Linked DNA regions of Homo sapiens: region 2 is linked to region 1. Evidence: promoter capture Hi-C in 16 types of primary human blood cells and fetal thymus (Javierre and others, 2016). All regions are on one chromosome and are shown on one strand. The core of a region is centred on a gene start or on the middle of the fragment in contact, and the rest is flanking DNA. Distances in the headings are between cores, read along the strand shown.

Evidence for each region. The method cuts DNA at HindIII sites, captures the fragments that hold promoters and counts their contacts. A CHiCAGO score of 5 or more calls a contact.
Region 2: a fragment that was not itself captured here is called in contact with the fragment with the promoter of UFL1-AS1 in region 1 in 1 of 17 cell types (endothelial precursors); the score reaches 8.6 in endothelial precursors.

What each region holds. Positions count from the first base shown.
Region 1 is chr6:96,519,976-96,526,735 of GRCh38, reverse strand. It overlaps UFL1-AS1 (UFL1 antisense RNA 1), which reads left to right and starts at 5,022. Exons shown (of 4, transcript XR_007059687.1): 1 at 5,022-6,760. UFL1 (UFM1 specific ligase 1) reads right to left here and starts at 4,930. Exons shown (of 19, transcript NM_015323.5): 1 at 4,786-4,930; 2 at 3,445-3,590; 3 at 2,326-2,354; 4 at 1,342-1,439; 5 at 301-415. The coding sequence starts at 4,862. RefSeq lists enhancers at 3,598-4,469, 5,136-5,325, 4,470-5,341, 5,342-6,213, 6,214-6,760. The HindIII fragment of the contact is 5,811 bases long and covers 1,494-6,760 here.
Region 2 is chr6:95,431,855-95,438,785 of GRCh38, reverse strand. No RefSeq gene overlaps it. Among named protein-coding and RNA genes, the nearest start is that of MANEA-DT, 140 kb to the left of the region's middle. The HindIII fragment of the contact is 2,095 bases long and covers 1,467-3,561 here.

The DNA.
Region 1 (6,760 bases), core at 3,773-6,272:
ATGCATTTATTGTACATTTGCTAATTGCATCAAAGCAGCCCTAGAACTTAGTCTATAAATTAGTTTTAGGGTGTCTCTTGGTTTAGGATGATTACAATCATTTTTAAACTGCCTCCTCAGAACCATTAATGTACTAGAAGTACCCCCCAAATATATTGGTACAACATATATCAAGTCAGACACCTGCAATAAATCAAATGATGGTGAGGAAGTCTCATTTTTTTTTCCCCCTTCCATTCAAAGTCTTCGTTTAAAATCCTTTGGTAAAAAGACACATTGTATTATTAGGAAAAAAAATACCTGTGTCAGAAAGTTCCCAGGAAGATCATAAGTTTTACACAGTTCTGATATGGTGACCTGACCACTTTCTTGCAATTTATCATTGACCTCTTCTGCCAACCGATCCAAATAATTCCTAATAGTGAAAACAAGAAAATAATAGAAAAAAGAATTAGGAATGTTTTTTCTGTTTCCTCATTTTATGTTTAATTTCCGTTGAAATGAAGTATGCCCCAAAAGTAATGAAATGTGTGTGTACATGAACACCACTCATCACTCATATTCTAACAAATACTTTTTTCTCATTAGTGTAGCTAAATGTAAGATTAATCAAACAATACATTTTCTTTTTCTTTTTCTTTTTTTTTTTTGCATCAAGGTCTCACTCTGTCACCCAGGCTGGAGTGCAATGGCATGATTATGGCTCACTGTGGCCTTGACCTCCTGGGATCAAGCAATCCTCCTACCTCAGCCTCCTGAGTAGCTGGGACTACAGGTGCGAGCCACCACATTTGGCTAATTTTTTAATTAGCAAACTTAATTAGTGAAATGGGTTTTGCCATGTTGCCCAGGCTGGCATGCTGGGATTTTTTTAAGTGGAAATTTGTATTTGATTTTCATTAACATTTTTGGAACAAATTTGCTTTCAGAGTTAAGATTATACGGGAAGGAACGTAAAAGTTACGTTTTACGTTTTCTTATTAAGAAAAAAATAGAAGTTTATATTATTTCTAAGTATTCCATACATTAACACTGAATTTTTTTTTTTTTTTTTTTAATTTGAGACAGGATCTTTGCTATGTTACGTAGGCTGGTCTCAAATTCCTGGTCAAGCAATCCTCCAGCCTCAGCCTTCTGAGTAGCTGGGATTACAGGTACATGCCACCATATGTGGCTTAAACACTTACTTTTTAAGTGAAATAAACCTTATCATGAAAATCAACACTGTAAGAGTTATAAATGAAATGTCTAACTGGCCATAATTGGCCTAAATTTAAACACTATAAAAAAAAGAAAGAAAATAAACAAAGTGCTCTTAAATTTGTACTTTATTGTACTTACTCATCTATCAGTTGTCCCAACACTAACTGAACATGCTTTTCTGATTTAATAATGTCACCAATTCTATTTTCAATATGAATCAGGTCCACATTAATTACCTGGAAAACAAATACAAAATCTATTAATGATTAGTTTGTATTGTTTCTTAAGCTTGAAATTATATACTTAGAACTATATTTTTAAAGAAATTGCCGGCCAGGCATGGTGGCTCATGCCTGGATTCCAGCACTTTGGGAGGATGAGGCGGGAGGATCCCTTCAGTTCAAGAGTTTGAGACCAGCCTGGGCAACATAGGGAGACTCCCATCTCAAAAAAAAAAAAAGAAAGAAAGAAATTGCTTATTCTTAAATTTTGAATCAATCTGAAATAATACGAAAAGCATTGGCCAAATAAAAAATTAGAGGTGTATTGCTTAGTTATTTTCAGTTCTGAAGAATTAAACTGTCACTTGCTAGTAAGTTTATATAAAGCAGTAAATTACATATTCATATAACAGATAGCATTTTACAGAAAATTCGCTGGCTTCTTGTTTATAGTGTACCTTGGTAATGACATATATATTTGTATATTTTGAAAATAGCTTCTACTTTTAAAAATGTTTCTCTATTACTTTCATATACTAAAAACATATAAACATGAAACTGGTGACTTTTCTCCCAAAATGACATAAACTCTATACTTACATAAAATAACTATGAGTTCATTTGGTAAAAAGTTAAGAATAAGAAAGCCAACTAGGGAAGAGTTGGCCAACTCTTTAATAAGGCCAACTTATTAAATCATTTCAATAAATCCGAATTTATTAAATCATTTTAATGTATCAGAACTTGTTAAATCAATTCAGTGTATCAGCGAGGCTTATATAACTATTTCTTTATAAACACTACACAAAATATGATACCAGCATTAGTGAATACTTGAACAAATTCACAGTATCAAAAAATTGAGAAAGTAAAGCAAAAATTTTATAAATTTAAAACCTACCTGTTGTAGATCAACAATGTTTACTCGACCTTTGAAGAAAAGACATTCATTTATTTTAAATGATCTATGCGTACATACCAACCCAAAGCTATAAATTCTAACATTTAAGTTTTGGTCAAAGTCCTGCATAGAACAGAGAGCCAGAATAATCAATGTCTTCAAATACACACCATTAGCTGATGGCTAAGTCTTCATGGCTGAAGCCATAAGCAATAACTTACTTTCAATTTTTTTTTTTTTTTTAAATAACATCAGGCCAATTATGAGCACCAACTGGCACACAAATTGGCTCTATCTATGAAGGGTATTCATTTCCCTTCACAATTCAGAATTTATCTACTGTGATCAAAGAGATATTGACAACTAAATTAAGATGAACTTTTTTTCAATTATTTGATACTAAAAGGTAGGCTTCTACATATCAGCATAAGAAAATCTGTTAAGTAATTCAAATTATAGCTCATATTTTAAAGGTACTATGAAGGAAAATAGATAAATAAAAAAAGACAAAGACCAATGTTACACTCTGATAATATGAAGAGAGGCTTTCATAATTGCTTCTATTTTAATCAAATAGTATTCAAATATGCTTGGTAGTCTGTTCAAATTTTAAGAAGACAAAGGAAACCAACTTTGTGCGTGTTTTTAACAGCATTTCATACAATATGATTGGTGTAGCACCACACTGGATTGAGTTACCTAATTTGTAAGTACAAGTAAGCCTTAAAAAGAAATACAGCCTTGATTTTCAAAAATCTATAATCCTGTAAGATACTGTCCCCCTTCACAATTACCACCTAATAAAAGGCAGCTGAATACCCTTCCCTGAGTCATGCAATAAATTAATGAATTGTAAAAAGAAACAATTAATTCATGTATAGTACACATAACTCAAAATGATAAAATATTTTAAGTGACAACATTTGAGTTCATTTAAATTATATGACCATGTTTGCATGAACCCAGTAAAAATATTAAGCCTGATTATCAAATTAACAATTGAAAACGATATCTTACAATCTATAATTTAGTATGCAATTACATGTTTACGGGTTTTGTTTGTTTGTTTTGCCCCTTCCAAAAATCCAAGAAAAAAAAAAACACTAAAGAATTACCTACCACCTCGGACATGTAGCTCATCTCTCATTTCTTTACTAATTTGGGCTGGAGTAATATATTCCTTTCCATCGAGTGTATGAACTACTTCTAGCTGTTTCTGAGCAATCAATTTATTAACAATCTCAATGCAGTTCCGCTCGGACAACCTGAGGGAAAGAAAAAAAGTTGTTTCAAAAGTCCACTTGAGACATTGGCGCTCAATAAAATTAATACAATGTATGAAAACAGGCTTTTAAAAAGTTTGTTTAGTCACTAACTTCTACATCACAATATCTGTATTTTTCACTAACTGATTCAATAAGTTAAAAAAAAACCTTTCAGAGTAAGTAGGTTTACATATGCTTAAATCATTTATTTAATTGGTACACATCATCCCATCACAAATTTCAAGTCTGTTGTCTCTTACAGGCCTGCTTCCAATCTTCAAATCTGAAGGGAAAATTGAAGACATTTATTTAGGTAGGAAAAAAGAAAAAACAAAACAAAACAAAACAAAAAATGCCCTAATTTCCAGTTTAATCAGAATTTTCTTTTAAATTAAGTGCATAATTGCCTCACTTACACACATGGTCTGCAAGCAGGCAGGGGATGTGGCCTAGTGAAACCATAACTTTTACCCACGTTAGTTACCCATGCAGTTACGAGTTTGCTATCAGTGGTAGAAAATACAGCATAAGGGGATTGCTGTCTTCCGGCTCAAAAGGAATAAAACATCGCAGGTAGGAAGTAGTCAAAGAATAGAAAGGCTTCTATTAGCGTTATTTTTAAAAAGCAGAGTTAGGCTCCTCTGGACACATCCTCCAAAGGTTAGTGGGCTTGTAGAAAATGTCAGTGCCCTGAATAACAGATGGGGTCAGGGGTCTAGCCCTAGGTCTGTTACGAGAGATAAAAGGGCAAGAAGTTTTAAGGATCAACATACTATTTGCCAAGTACTGTACTGGGGGCGGGGGTTAGCCTCTCCTTTCGAGCTCATTCTAGATCAGGAAGTGTATAATAGCCAAGATGTCACAGTGATTTGGTGGTTGGTGGGTGAGGGAGGGTCAAAGAAATGCTCAATAAAGGCAGCTCGAAATCACCGGCCCCGTCCATGGTGGGGCGGGGCGCGCCAGCATTTCGCTGCAGCTGGGCTGGGGGGCTCCAGGGCGTCCTAGGCTGAGGACTTTCCCGCCGAGCCTTGGACTTGGAACTGCGATCCAGGCTCGGGACAGAGGGAGGAGGAGAGAATGGTGACAAGCAGCGAGAAGACCCGGGATGCAGGGCCGCGGGTCTAAAGTCCCAGATACAGGCGTGTCCGCCCACGGCCTAATTTGGGCTCCACAAAGGAGAGGGAGGGTCGGGCACCTCTGCGTGGCCTCGGCGAACTGCGCCCGCTGGAAGTCGGCCGCCAACCGCCTAATCTCTTCCCAGGCGTCCGCCATCACGGCCTGACTCGCAGTAGACGCGGAGGAACTGCAGACACGTCAGCCGACAGGCGGTGGGAGAAGAGAGGCGGAACGGGCCGCGCAGAGGGACAAGAGGCTCCGCCCCCGACGCAGACACACCAAACGCTTGCGCCCGAGGCGCGGGGGGCGGGCGGAAGTGCCGTGGTTGTACCGCGGCGCTGGGGGTTCCTCCCGGCGAGACTGGCGGGGCTGCGGCGGCTAGGAGAGTGGTGCGTAGGTGTTTCTGGGGGGGTCGTGGGCAGGATGCAGGGCTCAGTAAAGTTTAGTGTCAGAACTTTGTTTGCGCTACCCCTAATATTTCCGTAGAGTAATAGTTGTATTAACTACTTTTCTTTTTTCTTCTGTCCTCCATTTGTTTTGGGGGAGGGTGCGGAGGAATAAGCCTGTGTCTAAGATTGGCGCCTCTCTTCTCTAGCTGTTAACTCTGAGCATTCCCTTTTGTATAGGGTATCGTGTTAATTTTTACATGCACCCAGAGCAGTCTGCCTTTTGGAAGATACATGGGAGACCCTACCGAAAGTAATTACTTTTTTTTTACAGAGTGAATAAATTTGCGTGTCATAAAGGCTGTATAATTGCTTTCGTGTCTAGAGTTCTAGAGTCTTTCGTATTTCTCTTATTGCAATGATTAACTTCATCAAATAATGAGGAATATAAACATAAGGTGCATGGCTATCAAGGAAACAGGGAAAGCAAAGAGAACATGTATCCTGCTTCCCTGTTGAGTAGATATTTACTCAGGTGTACCTTTCTTTTTTATATCTTTTTTATATCTTATGAATTGAAAATAAATCATGGGACCCCCAAATCACTAAGCTAAAGGGAAAAGTCATACTGGGAACTGCTTAGGGAATCCTGCCTCCCATTCTATTCAAAGTCACCCCTCTGCTCACTGAGATAAATGCATGTCTGATTGCCTCATTTGGAGAGGCTCATAAGAGAATGCAACTGTCTGTTATCTACCTATGACTTGGAACTTCCTCCCCACTTGGAGTTGCCCCGCTTTTCCAGATCAGACCAATGTTTATCTTACATATATTGATTGCTGCCCCATGTCTCCCTAAAATGTGTAAAACCAAGCTGTGCCCCAGCCACCTTGGGCGCATGTTGTCAGGATCTGTGCCATGTCATGGATGCAAGTTCTTAACTTTGGCTAAATAAACTTTCTGAGTTGATTGTGACCTGTCTCAGATATTTGGAGTTCATGTATCTCACTCTTTACTATTTAAAAAATATTATTCCAGTTAGAAAGAATGAATAATATCAAGTATTTGATAGCACAGCAGGGTGACTAGTTGTCAGAGGCGTTTGAACTAGAGCAACTCCATCTTGAATAGGGGCTGGGTAAAATAAGGCTGAAACCTACTGGGCTGCATTCCCAGGAGGTTAGTCACAGAGTGAGATAGAAGGTCCACAGGCAGGAAAAACAAGTCATAAAGACCTTGCCGATAAAACAGGTTGCAGTAGTGAAGCCAACCAAAACCCACCAGAAACCAAGATGATGAATACAGTGACCTCTGGTCGTCTTCACTGCTCATTATATGCTAATTATAATTCATTATCATGTTAAAAGACACCCCCACCAGTGCCATGACAGTGTACAGATGCCATGGCAACGTCTGGAAGTTACCTTATATGGGTCTAAAATGGGGAGGAACTCTCAGCCCTGGGAATTGCCTACACCTTTCCTTGGAAAACTTGTGAATAATCCACCCCTTGTTTAGCTGTAATCAAGAAATAACTATAGGTATCCTTAGGCCAGCAGCTCAAGCCGTTGCTCTGCCTATGGAATAGCCATTTTTTTTTTCCTTTGCTTTCTTTATAAACTTGCTTCACTTTATGGATTTGCTTTCAATTCTTTCTTGTATGAAATC
Region 2 (6,931 bases), core at 1,265-3,764, 1.1 Mb after region 1:
CTTTTGAAGAACAAATGTTTGGCCTTCTGGTATTTTGTATGGGTTTTCATATCTCCGTTGTTCAGTTCAGCTCTGATTTTGGTTATTTATTTTCTTTTGCTACCTTTGTGGTTGGTTTTCTCTTGTTTTTCTCGTTCCTCTAGGTGTGATGTTAGGTTGTTAATTTGAGATCTTACTAACTTCTTCATGTAGGCATTTAGTGTTATAAACTTTCCTCTTGACACTGCTTTAGCTATATCCCAGAGATTCTGTTATGTTGTGTATTTGTTTACATTCATTTCAAAAAATATTTTGATTTCTGCCTTAATATCGGCCTTTATCCAAAATTTGTTCAGGAGTAGGTCATTTAATTTGCATGTAAATTTGTGGTTTTGAGACATCTTTTTGGTATTGATTGAAAGTGATTTATATACCAGAAACAACTGGCTGAAGAATTGGAGAGTCATCAAACCAAGGAAAGGATTTTCCTAAAAAAATCTATACTAGTTGGACAATAAAAAGGAACATTGTTTATGAATAAATTTAGGAGGGTACTCAAAACTGAGAAGTAGAATCAATTTTAGAGTTTCAAGTAGAGATCACATGGATAGTTAAGTTAATAGCACTCAAAACATGTAAATAATTTCTTAGTCACACAAATATAAAAATACCACTGTTGCCTTAAGAAATTGTCCTGTCACCCTGTCAAATTTCTATAAAAAGGCAAACAAACTAATATATTTTTAAAACAAATCTCCACCAAATATTATCAACATTTGAATTATTTTCTTCATGCTAAAAATTTTAAGCCAGATCACTTTATTCTTGAAGTAAGAAGACAGATGTCTTTAAAGAAGCTTCCAATTTATTCTAACATATAATTTCTGAAATTAGTTTCATAAATTTATAAATTATTAAGTGATGCAACGTTTCTAGATATTCAAAATTAAATATGTTATACTGTATGTTTAATTACACTTATATATAAAGTTCAAATAAAATAAAACAGGATATAATTCTCTAGAATATTCAGCATTTTTAAACCTTTTCTTTGTACCATTATCTAATATCTTTGCATAGGTAAATCCTATAAATTCCATCTCAGAATAATATTTTAATACATTAAACATATAATTACAATGAAAAGTAATAATAACAAATATATTACTAAAACATAGCCTTTGAAGGAATGATGTAATGGCTCTAGATTAAGAATCTAGAAAATATATATTTCATTAAAATGATTATTTTCGCCTGAATATAAACTTCTTTAAAAGTTTTTAATCACGGATTAATGGTATACAGAACTGTTGATTTCTATATGTTCATCTTGTATGTGGTCACTTAATTATCTTCTTAGTTATAATAGTATTTCTGTTAACTCTCTTTTCTAGATACACAATACAGTAATAACATCTGCAAAAAAACTTGTTTCAGTATTTAATGTTTATAAATAATATTTTTTGATTATGTAAGTAATATAAGCTTACTGCAAAAAAATGAAAAAACACAGAAAAATATGTAGAGATGTCTTGTCAATATTTAATGTACACATTTCCAGAAAGTTGGTATTGTTTCATTTTAATAAAATCCTGTTATTTCCAACAACGTTGATGAATTGGAGGATATTATGTTAAGTGAAATAAGCCAGGCACTGAAAGACATTCTCACTAATATGTGGGAGCTAAAAAAAAATATATTGAACTCCTGGAGATAAAGAATAGAATGATGTAAAATGCCAGAGGCTAGGAAGGGTAGCTTGGGGGAAGGACAAAGAGGGGATGATTAATGCGTACATACATACAGTTGGAAAGAAGAAATAAGATTGAGTGTTCTGTAGTACAATAGAACAACAACAGATAACAATAATTTATCGGACACTTAAAAATAACTAAAAGGATGGCACTGGAATGTTCCTGACACAAAGGAACATTGTGTTGAAGTGATGAATATCCCAGTTACCCTGATTTGATCATTACACATTTTTTGCTGTGTCAAAATATCAGGTGTACCCCATAAATATTTACAACTATTATGTATACGTAGTAAATACAAATTTAAAAAATAAAAATACATCTCTAACATATCCAAAGCTGGTAAAGAAAGGGAGTGAAAGCCATTTCATTTGCCTTAGGCAAAAGGATCTTTACTGCATTGCTAATATTCCCTATTGACAGCTTAGTAATAGCTATCAAAAATTTTATGACTATACCTTTGACTCAGCTATTTTACCTTTAAGATTTCTTCTGAGCAAAAACCTCATAAATTTGCACAAAAATTATCTACAACTATGTTTATGGTAATAGTTTGAATAAAATTGGCTACCGTTCACTCAGTGCTTACTATGTGCCAAGTATTATGCTAAAACTTTTATGTACATCACCTCATTTCAACCTTGTAAAAACCTCATTGCCCCTTTCTTTTTAATTTCCATTAACAGGGAAGACTATTTAGGCTTAGATCTTAGGTGAGTTAGTCAAGAATACACAAACAATAAGTGTGTAAGTTAAAGTCATCCATCTCCAGAACCTGATAAAACAACAAAAGGGAAAAGGAAAAACAACTTAAACCATTTTTTAAAGGTACATTATAGCATATTAAACAATGGATTGTTATGAAGACATCTGCAAGTGACAATGCAAAGAAAAAATTAAGACATTGTAAAAATGTTCCCTAAAAGTTTGATCATATATACTTTGTAATCTAAGTGTTGATAAAATATACAATAAAATATTAATAGGCAGAAAATAAAATTGGGTGAATACTAAATATTTTATACATTTATATTTTCTTAATTATATATTGTAATACTTTCCATTTCATTCAATGATTACTTAGTATTTTATGTATGGATAATAAAATATACTTGATATTATGTTGAACCTTTAGGCTTTCTAATATTTCTCGTGATAAACAGTGCTGTAACGAGCATCCTTAAAAGTACTATTTGATCACATTAGTCTTGTATATTATTTTTATACAAATGAATTTTAAAATGCTGTAAAACACCTCTATATAATTATCTCAGTTTGAGGCTTTCATAGATGTTTCATTATCTATTTGTATATTTTAGTACCAGAATAACATTAGTTATATTATAGCTTCTCTATGATAAATTTTAGCATGTTTGTAACACAAGATCCTCATTATTATTTTTATTTTAATATGTACTATGCTTTCTCATCAATTTATGGTTTAATAAAATATTTAGAAATAGTTTTCAAAAATTTTAATGGTGATGTTAATTGGCATGTCTACTGCATAAATGTATCATGTATTTTTATTTCACTTGTTGACATGATAATTTTCATTTATCAGTGCTTTTTAATGTCAAAGTTTCATGTTAGGTTAATTCATCAAAAGTTGACATATTTGTTGCTATCATTAAAGTGTCTAATTTTAAATTTTATCTAATTTATTTTGAAATACTGGAAAAATGCTTATTAAATTTTTAATAGTTTATTGGTTGATTCTTCTGGGTTTGTTAGGAAATGTCAAATCATCTGTTAATATTAATGATGTTTTGTTCCAAGTCTTTTCTTGACTAGCACATAAAAAACACCGCTAAATGATGCAAAAGCTTTGGCTGTCTTGTTCTTGACTAAAATGGAAATGTATTTGATGTTTGAGCTGATGCAATTTGTTGCCTTTAATTTACTATAGAATTTTAACATATTTTATTATGTTAATAGATTTCTAAATATTAAACCGTTTTGCATTTCTAGATAAAAATGCTACTTTTCTTCAGTGTATTTAATATATTGCTAAACTCCACTTGCCAATGTTTTTTGAATAACATTTTCATCATTTGTTTGTATTCAGATTTCTTTTTTTTTTTTTTTTTGAGACGGAGTTTTGCTCTTGTTGCTCAGGCTGGAGTACAATGGCACGATCTCGGCTCACGGCAATCTCCGCCTCCCGAGTTCAAGCCATTCTCCAGCCTCAGCCTCCTGAGTAACCGGGATTACAGGTGCCCGCTGCCATGCCTGGCTAATTCTTCTATTTTTAGTAGATACGGGGTTTCACCATGTTGGCCAGGCTGGTCTTGAACTCCTGACCTCGTGATCCACCCGTCTTGGCCTCCCAAAGTGCTGGGATTACAGGCTTGAGCCACAGCATCCGGCCCTTTTCAGTACATTTTTTTTTTCTTTATTTTTTTGAGACGGAGTTTCTCTCTTGTTGTCCAGGCTGGAGTGCAATGGCACGATCTCAGCTCACCACAACCTCCGCCCCTCTCCCCCTACCCGGGTTCAAGCAATTCTCCTGCCTCAGCCTCCTGAGTAGCTGGGATTACGGGCGTCCACCACCACGCCCGGCTAATTTTTTGTATTTTTAGTAGAGGTGGGGTTTCACCAGGTTAGCCAGGCTGGTCTCGAACTCCAGACCTCAGGTGATCCACCCGACTCGGCCTCCCCAAGTGCTGGTATTACAGGCGTGAGCCACCGTGCCCAGCCCTTTCAATACATTCTTTATCCATTCTCCTTTTTGTCTTTGTTATTAGATACGTTTCAGCTTCATAAAAGCAGCTCATTCATTAAGGAATGTTGTACATATTAAAAAACACGAGAAGGCTAGAAGCGGTGGCTCACGCCTGTAATCCCAACACTTTGGGAGGCCAAGGCCAGTGGATCACGAGGTTAGAAGATAGAGACCATCCTGGCCAACATGGTGAAACCTCGTCTCTACTAAAAATACAAAAAAAATTAATTGGGCATGGTGGCAGGTGACTGTAGTCCCAGCTACCCGGGAGGCTAAGGCAGGAGAATCGCTTGAACCCTGGAGACTGAGGTTGCAGTGACTGAGATCGCACCACTGCACTACAGCCTGGCGACAGAGCAAGTCTCTGTCAAAAAAAAAAAACAAAAACAAAATACAAAAAGAAACATCAGAAATATAATGGATATAATGGACCCCATGTTGGATTGTTGGATTGGCCAGAAGGGCAGACGTATAGAAACCAGGGTAGGTCAGCTGTGGAAGAAGGAAGGGGTAGTAGGAGGACATGAATTGTTGTAGAATCAGTTCTGGGAGTAAGATGGACTGAAACTAGCAACTTAGATGATTACCATAGATAAGAGTTATAGGTGTAGCTAGATAAAATAGAGAGGAATATTGAGAGGCAGAAAGGCATAGACAGCCGCTATTAAACTGTGTTAAACCAGAAGTGGATTTGAAGAGTGCAAATCACTCAGAAGAGTCTCAAAACGAATACCATATATAACGGGTTTTGAACAGCCCTTGACAATGTCTAAAACCAATTTTGTTGAGGTTATAATTGACATACAAAAACTTGTATATATTTAATATATACAGCTTCTTGAGTTTGGAGATACATATACACCTGTGAAACCATCACTGCAATCTATGCCATGAACCTATCCATCTCTTCCAGAAGTTTTCTTCTATCATCTTTGTTAATTATGATGATGAAGTGATGATGATGATGATGATAAAGAACACTTAACATAAGGTATATCCTCTTAACAAATGTTTGGGTTTTTATTACAGTATTGTTTATTATAGACATTATGCTGTGCAGTAGATATCTAGGACTTACCTTGTGAAATTAAAACTTATAACCCTTGGCAAATACCTTCCCATTTCCCCCTGCCCCCAGCCCCTGGAAACCACCGTTCTAATATTTGCTTCTATGAATTTGACTATTGCAGATTCCTCATATAAATGGGATCACGCAATATTTGTCCTTTGGTGTTTGGTTTATTTCACCTAGCATTTTATTCTCCATGTTCATCTATGTTGTGGCAAATGGCAGTATTTCCTTCCTTTTTTAATGTTCAATGGTTCCTTCCTTTTTAAATATTCAATTGTGTGTATATATCATGTTTTCTGTATCCATTCATTCATCCATCCATGAACATTTAGGCTACTTCTACTTTTTGAATATTATAAATAGTGGTGCAGTGATTGGGAGGGCAGGTATCTCTTTGGGATACTGATTTCAATTCCTTTGGGTGTATACCTAGAAGTGCGATTGCTGGATCATATGGTAATTCTGTTTTTAAATTTCTGTGGAACCTAAGATAACAAGTGCTGGCAAGAATGTGGAGAAAAGGGAAACAAGGGAAACCTTGTACACTGCTGGTGAGAAAGTAAGGTGGTGTAGCCAATATAGAGAACACTCATGCTTAGTAAGCACTAAGTGGTTCGTAAACTCTATTTCTCTCCCTCGCCATATATATATATATATATATATATATATATATATATATATATATATATATATATATATATAAAATATCTTTAAATAAAATAGTAAATAATATTATTTATTATTATAGGGAATAGACTTTCCTCTGAAAGAAATTATTTCTGAATTTGATTAGGGCTCCTTAATTATATCTTAGAGTACAGCAAAGGGCTTTTATATGTTTGAAGACACTTGATTCAATGACATGCTAAGATTTGTCTATGTTATTTATAATGGGTGATACTTTTATTTCCAAAATTTGTTATCAAGTAAAGAACAATTACACAAATATACATCATTGAAAAGCAAATACATTTTGAAAAGTTTTAAACACCCAAGAAAAATTTTAAACAACTTTTTTTCTCCCCATTATTTGATAATATTTTTGATTTAGTATTTTCTACAATTTCTTTATATTGATTACCAAATTTGTTTGCTGATAAGAAGTGACAGGTGTTGTTTAAATCAGGTGCAAAATGTTTAAAGTTTCACATTTATGAAAAAAACATTCAGTTGGGAAAAAGATAAAAACAGAACACATTTACAATATAGAAATATTTGTCGGGTCCTGTTGTGATTTTTTAAAGTCCAATTATGAGGGCACTATGTTGTGTTAACCATTTTAGTATAAGTTAGTTGTATCTAGATGTTTAACCCTCCCTTTCCCCATCTGACACAAACTGTGATGATCACATTATATAGAACAGTCTGTGTTACCACTTCACTACAGGTAGAATTTTATTT